Linked DNA regions of Homo sapiens: all the other regions are linked to region 5. Evidence: promoter capture Hi-C in 16 types of primary human blood cells and fetal thymus (Javierre and others, 2016). All regions are on one chromosome and are shown on one strand. Each heading gives the region's core, a stretch centred on a gene start or on the middle of the fragment in contact. The rest is flanking DNA. Distances are from core to core; before and after follow the strand shown.

Region 1 (2,700 bases), core at 142-2,641, 1.8 Mb after region 5:
TGGCGTGAACCCGGGAGGTGGAGCTTGCAGAGAGCGGAGATCGCGCCACTGCACGGCAGCCTGGGCGACAGAGCAAGACTCTGTCTCAAAAAAATAAAAATAAAATAATAGACCCACACGCAGGGTAGGTCACCAAGTCCGTGACATGAAGCCCACTCCGGGAACTTGGGGCCACTTTTTAATTCTCACCCTGCGCTCCCCACACACCTGTGCCTCGCCAGTGTGACCCACGCTTTGGTCTTCCTCTCTGTGCCATCTGCAGACTCCAACTGACATTTTTTTCTGGCCCAACCTATTTGTGTCTGATAATCTTATACATGGGTCTCAGGCATGAGCAAAAAGGTTTAAACAGGAAAATTCAAAGGATTCATGGAATCAGCTTCTAAAGATCGAAAGCTACTGGCATGCGCTAGGGTATGCATGGCACAACCTGGGTCCTCACCATTTTCGAATTGGGATTTGGGGTCAAGCCAGCTCCCTCTTCCATCAGCAGAAGCCCTTCCCCTGTCCTAGGGCTTATTTGCATGGATGGCACATGGGTTTCTAGGCAAGAGCGAAAAATAGAAATGAACAAATGAAGGCTAGCTTGATTCTAGCTTACCCTGCAGGGAAAAAGTGACTGCAAGTAAAAGCCGAGAGTTGCTTTCATGAGTACGCTGTGAGGCTCCAGACACAGGCGGGGCTCCCGGGGCCTGGATGAAAAAGTGGCACAGAAGGGGGGGGGCCCCACTTCTCCCTGGCACACGGCCCACTTGAATTCAAGAAGACAGAAGCATATGCAATAATGTGGAGCCCCTTGGGGAGCAATGCTATTTGGAGAGCTCTGGGAAGCAGCAGCCAGAGTGAGAATTGGGGCTTTATAAAAGGGCAGGGAGGCGAGGGAGTGGAGGGGCCTCTCTCAAGCAACAGCCAGAAGGAATTCAACTTGGAGACCAGAATAGGACAAAAGGACTGGGCCGATTGAGAGCCCACCTGACTTTCCTAGGAACTCCAAGATCTCTAAGCATACATGGAAGGCTGAGATCCTGCCTCCACTGTGGGAGTAAACAGCCACCAGCATTCAGACTATACATATTGAAGCTATTTTATTGTTAAGTGCATGCTAATGGTCCTGGGGACCATAGGGATCACACACAAATGTGGGGTGAGCACCTCACATTTCAGAGGGAAGAGGCTCCACGTTAGGCACTGAGCTGTGGTCCCAAGGACCAAGCCTCTTGCAGGAGGGACAGGCCTTTATTTGACAAAGAGATAGGCTATAACCACATACAATGGCCCATGATCTAACGCCAAATGAATAGCACAGATGACAAGAAGTTTGAAATTCAGAAAAGGTCAAGGTCAGTGTGTTGAGTGCTCCAGGGAGGATCTCAGAAAACATTCATTTGTTCTTCCCCTACTTTTTGTTGCCCTCATGATATTGATTAATTAAGATTTAATAGAAGTGATCTTAGTTTCCTATTGCTACTACAACAAATTACCACAGTTAGCAGCTTGAAACAACACACATTTATTATCTTACAGTTCTTTAGGCTAGAAGTCCAACATGGGTCACTGAGCTAAAGTTGGAGTGCTGGCAGGGCTGAGCCGCTTTCCTGGAGGCTCTGGGGAAAATCAGTTTTCCTGCCTTTTCCAGATTCAGGAGGATCCCACAGCCCTTGACTTGTGATTTCTTCTCCATCTTCAGCCATCAACATGGCACCTCTCTGACCCTTATTCCATTTTCACATCTCTCTGATCACAGGCAAGAGAGGTTCTCAGCTTTTAGAGACTCGGGGTTAGATTGGGCCCACACAGTAATTCAGGATAATCTCTCCTACCACATTTTTAAATCTTCATCACAAAGTCCTTTTTGCCATGTAAGGTAACACTTACCAATTCCAGGAATTGGCATGGGGATCTTTGGTGGGGGAAGCATTATTCCGCTTATCACAGAGCAGATATTTTCCAAGGTAAAGTAAAAAAGATAAAAGTCTCTACCACAAAAGCATGTCCATTTCTCCTCATGCAGCCTACATTCACGGTATATTCCTAACAGTCACATCACACAGGAGCTCACATTAAGTTAACGGTCAACTAAAATTGCAAGATTGTTTTTTATGTTTAGGGCTAAGTCTTAAATAAACAATACCTATTTCAATATTTTTTTCTTGAAAGAAACTCCATTTTCAAGAAGTAAAGTGTTCAAATTATGATTGATTGATTGAGTGTAGCTGATATTAATCAGCCTTCTGGGTTAGCACTCACAGTCAAGAGAATCACGTTTTCATCTTAAATAAACAAACACATATTTACCTGTGGCTCTCAGAAGTGAGTTTTCATGAAAGACAATTTAGTTTTATTTAAGAAAGTTTGCCAGGCTCTTCTCATGGCTTATAATAAATGTAAATAAAGCCATGCTGCTTCCAGTGTTTAACAAATTCACTATCTATGGAGCACCTCCCAAGAGTGGACCAGGCACTGCTCTGAGCTATGAGAACACAGAGAGTAGTCAGAGCTGCCTTTAAGAACTCAGAGGCCAGGCTGGGTGTGGTGGCTCACGCCTGTAATCCCAGGATATTCGGACGCCAAGACAGGATGATTGCTTGAGGCCAGGAGTTCAAGACCAGCCTGGGCAACATAGTGAGACAACCATCCCTAAAAAAAATACAAAAATTAGCCTGGCATGCTGGTGTGCACCTGTAGTCCCAGCTACTTGGG
Region 2 (2,700 bases), core at 186-2,685, 1.7 Mb after region 5:
ACAGGCTAAGTTACCTTTTATGTAAAACACAAACAAAACTCCATCTCTCTCTACATATATATGTGTGTATGTAAGAACATCCATGTATGTATGTGTAAGTATATATGTACATGTATGTGCATGCATGTGTCTAAGTGTATGTGTAGATGTTGTGTGTGTATGTGTCTAAGTATATATGTATATGTTGTGTGTGTGTGTATATTTCCATAGTAAAGAATGAAATGAAGTCTTGAATGTAGGGCAAAAGGGTTTAGATTGAAAGCTGATAAAATAAGGAAATCACTAGAGCATAGCTGCGCTTTTCAAATAGTTGGTATGGAAAATTATCCAAGTTGAGGTTTGAATCAGGGAGACTAAGGATTATGAGGCAGCTGTAGGGTTGTAGTTGGTGTTGATGAGACATGATGGATTTGGATGAGAAATATTTAGAGAAGAGATTTAGAGTGATCCAGTGACTGTATATAGAGTCTCAGAAAAAAAAAAAATAACAATGACCAACCTTAACCAAAAGTGGTTATGTAGTGCCTGATGATGCTGGAAGACAGTAGATAGATGATTGATAGATAGATAGATAGATAGATAGATAGATAGATAATTGAGATAGATAATAGATAGCTGATTGATATAGATAGAAGATAGATAGATATTCATTTAAACCTTATTCATATTCCTAGACAGAAGATACTGTTTTTGACCCATCTCACAAATGAGGAAGCTGAGGCACAGATTTAGCAGCTTATTCAAGGTCACAGCTAAGGAATGAAATTAGAAGGTTGTACCCAAACAGCCTCCGGCTTGAGCCAAGCATTTTCATGTTAGGGAGTTGGTCTTTGAAGGTTGGAGAAAAGACAGGGACACAGCTCTCACAGGATCCCTCTGGAAAATGTCCTATCTCTGTGATTTTCGTTTACTCACTTATTCATTCAGGTATTTCTTCTTTACAGCCTAAACATTCGCAAAAACAATTCCCCGCTGGCTGCCGCTGTCTTTCTAGAGTGTATGCGGCGCTGACTTCACAGTGAATTGTCAAGTATGATTCTTTTTAAGGTGCCGACCACCTGATCAAGCACCAACAATCCACAGGCACCTCAAAGTCTTTTGTGGGGCCCAAACCAGTTTCTCCCTTGGCCTCCAGCCACTCTTTCCCTGAACAGGCATTCCGTGTTTTGGGCCTCGAGTCCTCTTTTGCACCCTGTGGATGGTGGATGCTTTCCCCTGAGCTCTGACACATCTCTCAAGGAAGCTGAGTTGTTTCTCTCCCAAGGCCACCGAAGGATTTCTTACCAGTATCAGGGTGACTTGAAGCCTCCACCCCTAACCTGGGCTGGTTGGTCTAACCTAGACTGCCTTAGAGCTATAACAGAAACTGCACCCTACCTCCCAGTCCCATTCCCCACCCCCAATCTACACTACCCATTCTCTACTCCAGCTAAAATTGCTGAACTGAGTCCAGTCAACTTGCATTTATGAGCAAAATAAATCATGGCTATTGTTTCCAGCCATTGGGGAAGTTCATTTTATAGCAATAGATGTAATTAGAACACGTCATCATCAAACATAATCATTCAATTAATATAATTATATGTGATAATATTCATATTTGACCCCCCCAACAGGCATTTGATAGAACTAAACATTTATTCCTTATTAAGGACTCTATGTAAGTGATGAAAAAGAGTCCCTCATTATGGTCATGAATCTCTGTCCAAAACTATGAATTAATATTAATATCCTACACACTGTGGACCACTGTAGACATTCATTCCCATTGAAATCTGAAGAAAAAAGACATCAAAATTACATTAGAGCATCCTGGAAGTCTGAGCCAATACACTAAAATATGAAAAATAAATTAGAGGTATAATATCATCAACATGATCAAATTAACAATATTCACAGATTATATGGTTGTCTACCTCAAAAACTTAAAATTGAAATTCCATGGGAAAAGGACTAAAGTGTCACAATTTGCAAAATTAAAAAAAATTTTAAGGTGTACCTTTGGGCTTACAAAAATTAGCACATGGTCTACCATTAAGTCACACGCATCTAAGGACTATTCCCTTAAACACCAAATAAACTAGACAAAGATTCGGAATTACTGCTTAAAAGAATGAGCTCAGTGTGCTTGGTAGTGTAGCAGAATGCCTAACTGCTTAGGCTCTGAAGCTAGACAACCTGGATTCAGATTCCAGCTCCCCCACTCACTGCCCCTAATGGCCTTAGGCATATTATTTAAACTCTTACGCCTCAGCTTTCTCTACAGAAACATGAAAATGTTAACAATGATACCTAGTGCATGTGGCTGTGATAACAATTAAATAATTGTTATAGGGAAAGTGCTCAGAACATTGAGTAGAACATAATAAACATCATTATTTGTCAGGTTTCTTCAGAGAAGCAGAACCAATAGAAGATAGATAGTGTTAAATAAAATTTGTGGGAGGCCATTGTACTCTTCACCCCACTTCCATTTTCTGTCCGTAAATGCTGCCTGACCATGCAGCACACAGGAGTTTTTAAAGCCTAAATTCTCATTCTGAAGGCTGCTCGATTCATGAATCATTGCTGTTGGAGGGTTTTTTTTTTTTTTTTTTGCTTAAAAAACTGATAAATTTAAACTTGCTTAAGGTTTTCCCTTTTTAACAATAGATAGAGAGATACATAGATAATAAGGAATTGGCTGGCACAACTTTGGAG
Region 3 (2,700 bases), core at 92-2,591, 2.0 Mb after region 5:
AATCTGAGAAATAAAGAGGAAGAAATGAGTAGGAAAGCATGTAGCTCCTTTCAAAAGGCACAAACAAATATTGTTTCATTTTGGCGTGTCTCCATGCTAAAATTATGGCTTCTCAAAATATTTTAAGAATTCTACTACAATAAAAACAGGAGTTTCAGAGAAATGAAATAATTTTCCTGATAAGCAGAATAATCCCTGTAAATATGATAGCTTACATAGCAAAGAGGGAATTATGGTTGCCAGTCAGCTGACCTTAAAATAGAGGTATTATCCTGGATTATCTGAGGGGGCCCAATGTATAATAATCACTCAGAATGGAAGAGGGAGGCAGAAGACAGACAGAAGGAGAATGGTCAAAGAGGTGCGGTGTTGCTCGGTTTGAAGACAGAGGAAGGAAGTCATGAACCAAAGGCAGTTTTTAGAAGGTGGAAAAGACAGGGAAATGGATTCTTCCCTCGAGTCTCCAGGAAGGCACCTAGCCCTGCTGACATCTTGATTTTAGCCTGCAGAGACATGTGTCTGACTTGTAAGCTAGAGAGGATAGTAAGATAACAAACAGTGTGTTGTTTTAAGCCATTGTATTTGTGGTAATTTGTCACAGCAGCCAGAGAAAACGAATACACCCTGTTTCTCAAATGCTATAATTAGGCTTATTTGTTTCTACTGTTTTAGAGTCAATCCTATACTTACTGCATTCACTTTCTATAATTTAAATATTTGTTCCTTCCTTTCTGTGATGCCTTACAAAGGCTGAAACAGAAATAGGCCACTACAGAAGCACATTAGCACCTGAAAAAGGAGAAGAGTCAGGTGTGACTGGTGGGACTTCTAATGGTTGCAGTAATGTAATATGTTGTAGACCTCAGCAGTAAGCTCAAATCAAGTTTTGCTTGACTGGACTTTACTTAAGCCTTTTAAAATTTACTTTTTTACTTCAGCCTTCACAGGCTTCAGATGAGTAATTTCAGCTATACTGATTATAACAGTCGGTGGCAGACTTCAGTTAACATATATATTTAATAAATCAAAATGCCAAGTGCATTAGTGGTATGTGTAGTCTTTTTGTTAGATGAGAGAAAATGAATGTATTGAGTGACCTCAATTCCTTTAGCAGTCAGAATTTCCTTATTTTAGGTTCAATTTTCTGTCCTCAAACCAGTCAAGTTACAGTGCATCCATCAGTGCCCATTTAACCTGAGGACAGCCCCATCACATTTTTGTATATTACATCAAATGAAGTTTCAGTAACATTTTTTAAAAGCTTTTCTTTTTGTTCTGTTTTACTGCAGAATTTCATATCTTAAGGACATTATACTTTGGGGGAGGTGGTAATAAAAATATCATAGGATGATTTTATGAGTAGATTATGGTAATACCAGAGATTTATTAATCAATGCACTTAAGATTTACCAGTAAGCTTTAGGTAAGAGTAGAAAGTCACTGGAATGTTCTAGGAAAATAGAATACCATGCATAGCAACTTTCATATAGTAATACTGACTAGCACTTTTATATGCAGAAGTTTCTACACAACTGAATAGGAGCTGGTATGGACACAAGTAAGGTGGTAGATGTGTTTTTTTATCTAAATTACAAAAATAATACTGCTCTATACTAGCATAGTCATTACGGCAGTTTATAACTGTAAAATATTGGAAACAATCTTGATGCCCATTGTTGGGAGAGTAATTGAATAAACAATGCACAATCTACAAAATAAGTAGTATACAGCGGTACAAAAAGAATAAGGATGATCTCGGCCAGGTGTGGTGGCTCACGCCTGTAATCCCGACACTTTGGAAGGCCAAGACGGGTCGATCACTTAAGCCCAGGAGTTCAAGACCAGCCTTGGCAACATGGTGAAACCCCATCTCTACCAAAAATACAAAAATTAGCCAGTCTCATAACCCAGTCTCAAAATAAACAAACAAATACATACATAGGTTAAAATTTAAAAATAAAATATTTTTTTAAAAAGAAGAAAAGGGAAGATCTCTATGAAGTAACATGAAATAAATGAGTACTTTAAATAAACCACGATGTGGGCAGAACCCAAAACGAAATACAAACAGCAACAAATGAACCTAAAAGTATTACAAATGAATAATACAATCACGCTGAAAGGATTGAGAACTAAAACAACTAACGTAAGTAAACTTGGAAAACAGTACTTATTGTATTCTGTAAGGTTAAGGTTTAAAAAAAAAATGCTAAACAAATATTGTAAGTTAGTAAATCTTTTTCATAGGGTGTAAGTTAGCAATTCTGAAACTGTGTGTATATAATATAGTATAAATATAGTATAGTTATGGTATATAATATACTATATATACTATATCTATAACTATGTATGAATATATACTATAATCCTTATACACACACACACACACACACACACACACACACACAGTGTTGAATAACTAAGAAAATATATTGTGGTTGAGAAACCAAGTTTCTCACTTTCTGAGAAAAGGCTTAAAAATAAGAAGAAAGGCTAGAACAAATTCTGTGGCATTTGATTGGAGTCAAAGGTATCCGTGTGAGCTCTTGGTCTTTAATATATACGGAAATGGATACAGAAATAAATATAGAAGAGAAGTGTGTGTGTATACATATAATTGTCAGTTCTGTCTGCCACAATAACTAAAAGTAATTACACCTCAGTAGCAACGAACACACCTAGGCCCCAGATCTTGGTTTC
Region 4 (2,700 bases), core at 103-2,602, 1.6 Mb after region 5:
AGAAGCCTTTTACTTATGTACGTATGTAAGTGCACACACACACATTTGCACTCATGAACACATGCAGGCGCCCACTTAAATGTATACACAGAACATACAAACAGAAGTCTATATCACTTCGTCTATACACACAAGTTGGTAAATACATTCTCTCCAGACTGACCAATGGGAACATGGAAGACACAAGTTCTTCATCTCTCCAAGTATTCATGTTAAGCAGTTCCAGTTAATTTCCACAATATCAGAAATACAAGTTAAGAGTGGACAAAGCAGCCCCTCTATCTACACAGTCCTGGACTCTTGGCTGGCTGAGTTGGCAACTGGCACAGGGGCTCCAAGGAGCCCGTGAACATCTGCCTGCTTGAAGGCCAAGGCTAGATCAATAGCCAATCAAAGACTTTTTCCACGACTCTGTGTTTGTCATTCTCCGATATCCTGTAACCCAATTCCTGTCCTTAGGGAGAGTATGCTTAAATTCTGAGTGTGGATGCTGAGTTAAGGTGAGGGTACTGAGGTTGAACAAAAGAATAGCATTTCAGAGATACCATCTCACACCAGTCAGAAAGCTATTATTAAAAACAACAGATGCTGGTGAAGCTGCAGAGAAAAAGGAATGCTTAAATACTGTTGGTGGAGATGTAAACTAGCTCAGCCACTGTGAAAAGCAGTTTGGAGATTTTTGAAAGAACTTAAAACAGAGCTAACATTTGACTCAGCAATCCCATTACTGGGTATATGCCAAAAAGAAAATAAATCATTCTACCAAAAAGACACATGCACACACATGTTCAGCACAGCACTATTCACAATAGCAAGCATATTGAATCAACCTACGTGCCCGTCAATGGTGGACTGGATAAAGAAAATGTGGTACATATACATCATGGAATACTCTGCAGCCATAAAAAAGAACAAAATAATGTCCTTTGCAGCAACATGGATGTAGCTGGAGGCCATTATTCTAAGCAAATTAACACAAGAACAGAAAACCAAATACTGCATGTTCTTACTTAGCAGGACCTAAGTATTGGGTACTATGAACATAAAGATGGCAGCAGTTGACACTGGGGGCTACAAGAGGGGGAGGGAGGAGGCAAGGATGGAAAAACTACTAGGTTCTAAGCTCACTACTTGGGTGACAGGATCAATCATTCAAACCTCAGCATTACACAATATACCCATGTAACAAACCTGCACACGTACCCCTGAATCTCAAATAAAAGTTGAAATTATCAGAAATTAAAAATTGAAAAAAAAAATAGCATTTCAACCTTAGGCACCTTGAGCCCTTTAGCCCTGGCATGAAGTGAAAACTTCGTAGATGTTTTTGACTAACTGACTGATTGGCTAACCAACAAGGAAAACTGGAAGATCCAGTGACAATTGCACTTCTGTGAATGGAGACGTTTTATATACATTAAGCCTGTTACTGATCAGAAGAAAACTTTTGCAACCGATTTATCCTTAAAAACATCATTTTCTGTAAGGATGGGGAAGAAGCCCCAGCTCAGCAGCCTGGTTGGCTCTTCCATGTCCCAAATGACATAGGCATCCTTCAGCTAGATTCCCCCTAGTAAATAAGTTCCACCAGCCCACGCAGGCACCACTCCCAAGAAGCAGGCTGCAAACATGAGTCTCTTCCACAGGTAAGGCTCTAATCTGCGCACCGTGTACTGCTCCTGTCTCCCTCATCCTCAGACTGCTGACTCCCTCTCTGCCACATCATTGCCAGCTCTTTACATTTGGCTACCCTTCCCATTTCCTTTAGGCTTTGGGGATTTGGCTTTCTATTCAGATCGGACTATGGTTTGATATAATTTACAGCATCTGTTGAGAAACTTCTAATTCAGCCCTGACCCCTCAAAATCTCACTGAAAAAGGCTCTTTTTCTATTCCCGACCAGAATCTTGGTCCTCTGAATATGTTAGGGGCTGAGTCCACACCCCTTCCTCCCCGCTACACACACACAAACATTGAGAAAGGGCAGGAGGCAGGAGTCTTCCCAACATCCCACTTGCAAAGGGAACACATGCTCATCCATTCTCCAGCAGTCGTTCTTCATTGTGATGCCTCCAATCTAAATGTCAGTACAATTTGCCCTTATAAAAATACGGCTCCCTCCCCTTCTCCACCAGGGACTGCATCTGTAACCACGGTAACAAAATCCAGGTGCAGCAGCACAACCACCATTTCTATGAGGATGGAGAGCACCGAGAGGGGAAAGGGAAAAAACAGTGCTGCAGTTTTCACATGCAGCCTGGGGTCTGTCCAGGGACCACATCTAGTTCTGCCCAGAAAAGGCTGCACTCACATCTATTTTACAAGGCAAAATGAGCCCTTACCAGCAGTAACACTCTTCTACCTATTCTTGTACCTAATGTCAAAGCCTCTGCTCCATACAGTCAGTTTAGCTAAAAGAAATGGTCACTTTCAGGAGCAAAATTGTTAAAGCTATAGGTTGAAATGCCTGAAGCCAAGGCAATCGCTGTGTTTTGTTTTTTGTGTTTTTTCAGCTTTCTTTTCCAACTGAGTGAGTTACTACTCTTTCTCTCTGAGGCACACACACACATACGAAAGCAGAAGGGAAGGAAAAGAGGGAGAAAATACTAAGAAGCTCTCATCCTTTGAACATCAGACACAGTGCTAGTACTTTACAAATAATATATTTAATAATTGCATCAGCCACCCTCCAGTGTATAT
Region 5 (2,700 bases), core at 99-2,598:
TTACTCTTTGGCTCTGGCCACATGAGAGACAGACAGACATACAGACACACACTTCTTTCTTTTTGCCTTGGCTCACCACTATTCAATGCCTGGAAGCCTTATTTTCTCCCTTGGGAACCTCCACTCAGTCTTTACAACTGTCATCTCCTCCAGGAAGTCATCCCTGCTCTTCTTCCCAGGCTGGTTCAGAGCCCAGGCATCTGAGCATACACAGCTCATTCATAGCCCCCCCCAACATTTAAAAGATGACTTGGTTGGGTGTCTGCCTCGCCCACTGCGCTGGGAGCTCTGGGCAAGGGCTGTGGTGGGAGCCTCTCCCCCTGGTGCGTGGCGGGAGTCCTGGGGCCCCTCCGCGGACAACAGGGCCCGGGGACGTTCCCAGGCTTGCTGGAGGAGCAGCTTTTGAACGAGGCTCTGCCAGGTCCCAGACCCCAGGAAGCTCAGCTGTCTCCTCGAAATCTTGGGGGTGCCACATGGAGCCCAGTCCCTTTCAGGCACGAGCCCACAACAGCTTAACGCTCTCTTTGGTGGTGGCCGGCCCGAGGCAGGCACCGGAGGCGGAGGGAGCCCTGTTCCGCTGTGGCCGCGAGGAGCGGGCTCTTCGCCCGGGCTCGCACATGAAAGCTCCGTGCAGGGTCGGAGTCTGAGCCCGCCGGCCGCTTGGAAGGCTCCTCACGTCCAGGCGCCGCGGTCACGGCTGCGCTGGTTTCCGGCCATGAATTGGGCTTCAGAGTCCGAGCCTCTTGCCCGACTCCCGGCTGAGCGCGCTGCCCATGGAGCGGGGGATGGGCGCCCGCCGAGGTCCGCGCGGCCAGCCAGGGTTCGAGCCCACGGCCCGGGCTCTACTCTGAGATGCTTGCGGCGGCCGGCCCCCTCTGGCTCCCCAGCTGTCCTGGGGCCTGGCCCGGCGCCCCGCCCCGGTCTCTCTTCTTGCTCCCCAGGTCCCACTCCACGAGGAACGGTCTGTTTCGGCCGGGGACATGACCCGAGACGCGCGGCTGCTGAGGTCGCCAGGGCGCTTCGGGAGCCCCTCGAGGGCAGTTAGCGGCCGGCCCTCCTCCATTCTCCCGCCCCTGGCGAACCGGAGAAGGAGGCCCGAACCGTCAGAGCTCGGCGCGCCGCAGCCCAGGCCGGTCCCCGCCGCTGTGCCGGTCTCCGAGCGTCCCCCGAGCCGGGAGCGTGGAGCACCCGGCGCCCCCTCCGAGCCGCGAGCGGGCGAGAGCCGCGCGGCGAGGCTGAGGCTCCGCAGTCACGTGGTAGAGAGGCGGGCGGAGGGGAGGGAGGCGGGCAGGGAGGGGAGGGGGAGCGGAGCTGAGGGGGAGGGGGAGGGGAGGGGGCGTCCTCCGCAGTTCGCTCCTCGCCGGGGCTCAGACACACAGCCAGCCCAGAGCCGCCACGCCGGCCCGGCCGCCGCCGCCACCGCCTCAGCCTCCCCCGAAGCCGCTCTAGCCGCGGGAAGCGCCGCTGCCACAGCCGCGGGCCGCCCCCGCCGCGCCGGCCTGGGCTCAAGCTGCCAGCACCGCCGCAGCCGCCACCGGAGCCGGAGCGGGAGCCCGACCGCGCTGGGCTGGGCTGGGCTGGGCTGGGGCGGGCGCAGGGCGCAGGGGCGGGCGCGCGGGGGAAGACGCACGGGCGGGCTCGGCTCTCCCGGGGAGCGGCCCGGGACTGCACCGGGACCAGCGCCTCCCCGCTTCGCGCTGCCCTCGGCCTCGCCCCGGGCCCGGGTGGATGAGCCGCGCGCCCGGGGGACATGGAAGCGCTGACGCTGTGGCTTCTCCCCTGGATATGCCAGTGCGTGTCGGTGCGGGCCGACTCCATCATCCACATCGGTAAGCGCGGCTGGAGGCCGGGCCGAGGCTGGGCGGGGGCCCCAACGGGGCAGGGGGTGCGCGGCGTCCAAACTTGGCGTTTCCCTGGGCCGAGGGGCTCGGCGGGCGGTGCTCCCCCGAAGGGCCGCGCCGCGCCGCCCGGCGGAGGAGCTGTGCACCGGCCGCGCCGCGCTCCCGCTGGCTGCTTGCCGCTCCCCGGGGCTCCGATCTCCGCGCGGGGCCCCGCGGCCTCTACCGACACTTAGGGCCGACGCTTCGGGGAACACCGGGATGGACGCGCGTCGAGACCCGCGCCCTTAGCGGGGCCGTCGGCGGGTCGGGAGGGCCCTTCTGCGCAGCTCAGAGCAGCGGGGGGCAGGGGGAGGTACAGCGGGGGGCTCGCCAAGTTGGCAGGGCAAGATCAAAGAGGCCGGACCGGAACCGTGTGTGAATGTGTGTGGGTGCGTGTTGTCAGCGTGTGTCGCTGTGTGCGCCTGGCACGGTGTCGGTGTTACTGTGAGAGGGTGTTGGGGTGTGTGGGGCCATCTGAGCGTGTGTTGGTGCGTGCACGACTGTCTGTCAGCCTGTTAGAGTGGACACAGTGTCTGCCTGCTTCTCCGGTGTGTGTCTGTGTAGCCCTTGGTGTATGTGTGAGTGCGTGTGTATCTGGTTGTGGCGACTGCATCCCCATCCTGGACAGTCCTAGAGTTTTGCGTGGTCCAAGTCTTGGGGGCCCAGACGGTCTGGGTGGTGGGAGCCGAGGGAAGAAGCGTGGGCAGCGGGGGGTAGGGGGATGCTGAGCGGGAAGAGATGGATAGAGAGAGAGAACCGGGAGAGAAGATGAAAGCGCAGAGGAGGAGGGGGCGCGCCGAGGGGGAGTGGGCGCGCCGAG
Region 6 (2,738 bases), core at 116-2,615, 1.7 Mb after region 5:
TCCATATCTTTCTAATATTTCTCAAGCCTGCTTACACAGGCCCTGAACATGGCCAGCATAAAGCTTTGTCTCCTGTTTCATTAAGACAGAGAAGCATCATTTCCCTCGACTTCTAGCTCCTGTCACCTATAAACTGATGTAGGTCCACACCCAGAACTGGCCCCTTCCCTCCGTTCCCCTTTTTATCCAAGGCTAAAGGTTCTCTCTGTCCACCCTCTGCATCTTCTAAGTCCTCCCGCCATCAATTTCCCTTCCTCTACCCTCAGCCGCCCACTCCACCAAGCTTCTGTACTCATTCTATAAATAGGTATGTTATTTTCCTCCTCCCCCACCCCAAGAATAAAACCCTGGTGTTGTGTTCCCTCTAGTAAGATTCTTCTTCTCTTTTCACTAGAACTTCTACAAAGTGTGGCCTAACTCAGTCTGCACAGCATCTCATTCAACTCTCAACTTCCTGCAACCAGACTTCCATTCCCACTCCAGCGAGCCCAGTCCTTCCCTGTCTTTAACTCCCCTCTGTACCTGGCACTAACAACCATTATTTTTTATTCCAGCACTTCCATTCCCCATTCTGGCCCTTGCTACAATAGCCCACCCTCCAATCCTTCATGGTTCCCCTCTGACTAGCCCCTCATGACTAGCCCTGCTAGTCATGAAACCCTCTTACTCTTACTCTTGCATGGAACCCTCTTACTCTTACTGTTTAACCCTAAACTTAAAGTTTAGGGTTCCAAGAGTTTTGCTTCTGACTCACTGTTCTTCTTACATGCTAGACCCTCTCTGGGAGACTTTATCTTCATACATGGCTGCATATTTCAAAATCTCTAGCTCCAGTTTTGACTTCTCTCCTAAACATCAGATCTTACTCATTCTTTGAAATTTTCCTCTGGATGTCCCTAAAATCCTTAAATGTGTGTTCAGCCTTCATCATCTCCACAGGTCTCCATTTGTGAAACTAAATAGTCCTTACCCCAGCCAATGACAACACCTTCCACATTGCCCATAAGTCATGAAAGTAAGCTGCTCCTTCTCTCCTAACAACCATCCTATCATGCCACCTTCTAACTTTTACCTCTTAAATATTTTCCAGTCCATCTCGGCCTCCCCTGCCTGAGGATTGCTGCCATCTCCTCATTGGTGTCCATTTCTGATTTTGTTCTTTTGAATGCCCCCTACACATAGTTCCAGAAGGAGCTACCAAACACAAATCTGATTCATTTATCACCCTGCTTAAAACTTGTGGGTAGATTTCCATTTTTAAGCACTTTATGACAGCCTCAAAGGACCCGTGTCATCTGGATTTCAGGAAACTCTCAGATCTTCCACTTCCCACTCCCCACCTTGCACATTATGCCCCACCTAGACCAAAGGTATGCAGTTCCCCATGCACTGTGCATTGTACTGACATCTATGCATCCTCTGAGCCCTAGCAGATGCAGTACGTCTCCTTTTCTGTTCCCTTAGCAACCCTCACATACTGACATCTGAGCTTTCACCACACATTGCATTTGGGCAATTCTTTGATTTCTGGCTCTCCCACAAGCATGTGAGCTCCTCGATAGCAGAGCCATGTCTTAGCCTTCTCTGTATGTGCCCGGCACCTTCCCAGCTCCTGGCCTGTGCTGGGTCTTGAATAAATGATGGCTGGACTGAACTGAACTGACTGTCTAAGTTGGTCACTCTGCCACTCATTCTCAGAACTCTCCATATCTGGCCTACATCAAACCTTCCTACAACTGCCTCTTCAAAGGCAGGATCATTCCTTCCAGATGAAAGTCCTCGATTCCACTGTCGCAAGCTCTTTTCCTAACTCTCATTACATGAGTTTCCACTTCACTCATATGTTCCCAGAAGTGGAAGTTATTTTCTGGTTTTAAATAAAATAAAAGTAATCTGACACCCCCAAAGTCATTCAAAATGACCTTTGTGTAGTGGAAAGGACACTCATTGGGGCGTCAGGAGGTGTGAGCTGCAGCTGCTGCTCTGCAGCTGCTATTCATTCTGCTGGAGAGCAATGTACTGTCTGGCTCCGGCTACCTTCTCCTCCTTTACACAATGCCCAGGTAGGGAAAGCTGAGGCTGGAGTCCTGATGTTTTATGCATCAAAGGCTTTTCTTTATTTAGGGTTTATCTGACATCTTTACAAACGTGATAGTGAGATGGTTTGGTTGTTAGAGTGGCCAGAAAGAGACCCAGAAGCTGGTAAGTGGAGGGGTGGGGACAGGAAGAGGAAGAAAAATCCAGCTCTGAGCAACTCATCTAAAGATGAACCCAGGACAAGGCGGCCCTGAAGGAAAATATTGGCCTGAGATTCAGGCTCTGACCTGCTTGCCTTGGTGCTCTTAACTTGGGTTCTTCACAGCCCAGACTTATCTTCCTGGAACTTGCTCACACCTCACTTCCTCTCAACCAGTTCTTTTCAAATAAACCCTTTCCTATAAAGCTTTCACTTTAGTCTGCTCTGTTACAGATAGCCCTAAAGCCAGAAGAGCCACAGCAATGAAAAGTTCTGCCCTGCCCCGAATCCTACACAGTGCCTCATCTCTTCTCCAGGAGCCTGGGCACTTTCAGCCCTCCCCACGCGGGCTGCCCTATGCTCTCCCTGACTCAGTAAATCTCAGAGAAAGATGAGGGCCTGCCTGGTGCTGCACTCCCTACCTCGTCAGAGGAGCCTCAGAAAGAAGTGGAGCTTGCTTGTGTTAAAAACAGCCAGCGACCGGTCGATGCTTCATAGCAGG
Region 7 (2,700 bases), core at 106-2,605, 1.8 Mb after region 5:
CCCTTGAATTCTTTACGAGCTCTGAAAGGCAGGAAAGCACTGTGTGCTCTGCTTTCCTTCCCTTAGTTGAAATTTTTCTTAGAATGAGAGTAGTCAGACCAAGGACCAGGGTTCTGAGTGCCCAGGTCTGGCCCAAACCCTTTCCCAAACACCTCCTGTGAGCTCTGACTAGTCCTGAATCTTTGAACCTGGTGGAGGCGGCCCCTGGCAGCAGGGAGTTTAGAGCATCTGTGTTTGCATCTCAGCAAAACTCTGGAACACAATTTAAGAAACCATTTGCATTAACAATCCATCACAACTCCTATTACTTTTGTTTTTCATTGCAATTCACATTTGCACTTGACCTACTATAAATGCAAAACCTCAGCTAAAACTTGTGAAAATTTTTTAAATTCCTGATAATTCAGAAGTATTTTGAACTGATACGTGCTTAAAAAGGCCTCAGGTTCGTGGAATGTATCGTTACCACTACAGGTTATGTGATAGTGGCCTAGTTTTTATTTAGCTGTAATTAAAAAGAAATCCTAACACACATGCACATTTGTCAAGGATGAATGGTTTTGGAAGCGAGTTCACCTGTGGTCCCAAACGTCCCCTTCCTGCCCACTGGCTCTCTTACAGTGCTTTGTTTGGGATCCTTCTTGTCATGTTGCAATTTGATCTCTTCAATCGCAGGGTCTCCGTCTCATCCACCTCCTGCCACGAGACAGAAACGAGGGCTGTGCACAAAACAAGCATTTCAACCATGTTTCTTGTGGGGAATAGTTACCTTTCACTTTAGTAGACTGATATTTCAGGTATACTTTTGCTGCAGAAAGCATTTGTTCTGTAATCACTTAAAGTATTACCAAAGGATTATTCATACTCAAAATGGGTGTCTGAATGAATTCATGTGAGGATTAAGGAGTGGGTTGTTTTGAGATCTGGAAAGTAGCAATACCATTTTTCAGGTTGAGAAACCAGAGAAGTGCCTGTGAGGAACTGTTTCTTCCTCTCTGATTTTTGCACAGAAAAGATGCTAATTTGAGGGCTGTGTGCATGGGTGGGTGGGAGAATTCATCAGTGAGGAAAAGGCTTCTCTGGATGACCTAAATTCCTCCTTAGAGACTCCATGGCAAGAAATGGTAGGAAACCAGCAACAACATGAATGAAACTGGAGGTCATTATGTGAAATAAGCCACATACAGGAAGACAAATGTTGCACATTCTCACTCATGTGGAAGATAAAAAAGAAATGATCTAACAGAGGTAGAGAGTAGAATAGTGGTTACCAAAGGCTGGAAAGGGTGGTGGGGAGGTGGGATAAAGAGGGGATGGTTAATGGGTACAAAAATACAGTTAGAATGAATAGGACCTAGTGTTCAGTAGCACAGTACAGTGACCATAGTTAACAATAATTTATTGTATATTTCAAAATAACCAGAAGAGTAGTATTGAAATATTCCTAGCACAAAGAAATAAATGAGGCAATGGATATCCCAATTACACAGATTATAGTGTATGCTTGTATCGAAATAACAGGTATTTAATAAATATGTATAATTATTATATATCCATAAAAATTAAAAATTAAAATAGAAACTGAAAACATCAAGTAGACCATATTATATTTGATCTATCCAAGAGAATGGGATGGAAGGAAAAGCCCGGACATGAATTTGAATGTTAAAGGTAGACTTCAGAAAGCAACATCTTATGGGTTGAGGTTCTAAAAGGGACAGTGGCCTTAGGATAGTCGAGAAGTCTTAAAATCAAATTCCAAGAACCTAAAGTAGAAAGCAGAGTATTTAATAGTGGCTAAAGAGGAAGTTCGTTCTTGGATAAAATAATAAAAGGCCAGGTTTTCTAGGGAAATGAAGGCATGCAACCAAACAAGAATAAACATAATATAGAATCCAAGAGGAGAATAGTGCAAGGGAGTTAAAGCCCAGAATGAAATGAAACTGAAGAGGAAACGTCAAAAGAGACTGGTAGGTTCAAAGGAAGATAATAAACAGGGAATGCAAGGGAAGGGCTCAGTGCTGCAATGGATCGGATGATGTTAAAAATCCCCTAGGGTTCCTAAGCTCCATAAGGCAGAACCTGTATCATCGTTACCTTTGTACACCCTGCAGCCAGCACAGCAAGTGACACAGGTAAGACATCCCATCAAACTTACTTAAACCAAGTTAACAGAGGAAGAAGTCAATTCTTTAACTCATGCTTGTCTTTTCTGTAGGGATAAAATATTTTCACAATGGAAAACGCGCAATCAACAGCATAAATGAAGAAACTGAAATGACTACACTTAATGACAAAATTAAAAGGGAAAATTTTTAGTATAAGAAAGTACTTGCTAATGATAGATGCAGAAGGCCAATAAGGGGGAGGGTCCTCAGAGAATCTCCAACCAGCTTGTGCACTGGGAGAACTGGGTGGAGCCACGGGAAGTTCCAGCCTTGGGCAGGAGGGAAGAGCCTGAGCTCTTCAGCTCACATGTGTGGTGGCCTGGAACTTATCTGTGAGGTGGGGGCCTGTTAGCAGGATTCCCCCCTTGCTTTGCTGAGTTTTTTTTTCCTTTTTGCCCAATGAATTCCATTCCCCACACACTTCAATGTGTCCATGTGTCTACATTTTCCTGGTCCTGACACAAGAACCCCGATTTAGCCGACCTAAGGAGCAAAATTCTGCAACACTAAGAACTCAGATGGCCTTAAAGTT

What was found. The method cuts DNA at HindIII sites, captures the fragments that hold promoters and counts their contacts. A CHiCAGO score of 5 or more calls a contact.
Region 1: a fragment that was not itself captured here is called in contact with the fragment with the promoter of GRID1 in region 5 in 5 of 17 cell types (endothelial precursors, non-activated CD4 T cells, total B cells and 2 more); the score reaches 9.9 in endothelial precursors.
Region 2: a contact is called between a fragment that was not itself captured here and the fragment with the promoter of GRID1 in region 5, in 1 of 17 cell types (endothelial precursors). The highest score is 5.6, in endothelial precursors.
Region 3: a contact is called between a fragment that was not itself captured here and the fragment with the promoter of GRID1 in region 5, in 3 of 17 cell types (naive B cells, total B cells and total CD4 T cells). The highest score is 10.0, in naive B cells.
Region 4: a fragment that was not itself captured here is called in contact with the fragment with the promoter of GRID1 in region 5 in 1 of 17 cell types (endothelial precursors); the score reaches 6.5 in endothelial precursors.
Region 6: a fragment that was not itself captured here is called in contact with the fragment with the promoter of GRID1 in region 5 in 2 of 17 cell types (endothelial precursors and total CD4 T cells); the score reaches 7.8 in endothelial precursors.
Region 7: a fragment that was not itself captured here is called in contact with the fragment with the promoter of GRID1 in region 5 in 5 of 17 cell types (total B cells, naive CD8 T cells, non-activated CD4 T cells and 2 more); the score reaches 7.6 in total B cells.

What each region holds. Positions count from the first base shown.
Region 1 is chr10:84,591,752-84,594,451 of GRCh38, reverse strand. No RefSeq gene overlaps it. Among named protein-coding and RNA genes, the nearest start is that of CCSER2, 260 kb to the right of the region's middle. The HindIII fragment of the contact is 4,549 bases long and covers 1-2,700 here.
Region 2 is chr10:84,678,717-84,681,416 of GRCh38, reverse strand. No RefSeq gene overlaps it. Among named protein-coding and RNA genes, the nearest start is that of CCSER2, 350 kb to the right of the region's middle. The HindIII fragment of the contact is 5,451 bases long and covers 1-2,700 here.
Region 3 is chr10:84,395,894-84,398,593 of GRCh38, reverse strand. All of the region lies in intron 3 of CCSER2 (coiled-coil serine rich protein 2), which reads right to left. Among named protein-coding and RNA genes, the nearest start is that of CCSER2, 69 kb to the right of the region's middle. The HindIII fragment of the contact is 156 bases long and covers 1,264-1,419 here.
Region 4 is chr10:84,797,948-84,800,647 of GRCh38, reverse strand. No RefSeq gene overlaps it. Among named protein-coding and RNA genes, the nearest start is that of LINC01519, 400 kb to the left of the region's middle. The HindIII fragment of the contact is 8,386 bases long and covers 1-2,700 here.
Region 5 is chr10:86,365,443-86,368,142 of GRCh38, reverse strand. GRID1 (glutamate ionotropic receptor delta type subunit 1) reads left to right here and starts at 1,348. Exons shown (of 16, transcript NM_017551.3): 1 at 1,348-1,829. The coding sequence starts at 1,751. RefSeq lists silencers at 650-859, 970-1,359, 1,380-1,429, 1,660-1,859, 1,890-2,039. The HindIII fragment of the contact is 11,562 bases long and covers 1-2,700 here.
Region 6 is chr10:84,660,626-84,663,363 of GRCh38, reverse strand. No RefSeq gene overlaps it. Among named protein-coding and RNA genes, the nearest start is that of CCSER2, 330 kb to the right of the region's middle. The HindIII fragment of the contact is 2,160 bases long and covers 286-2,445 here.
Region 7 is chr10:84,519,155-84,521,854 of GRCh38, reverse strand. No RefSeq gene overlaps it. Among named protein-coding and RNA genes, the nearest start is that of CCSER2, 190 kb to the right of the region's middle. The HindIII fragment of the contact is 4,470 bases long and covers 1-2,700 here.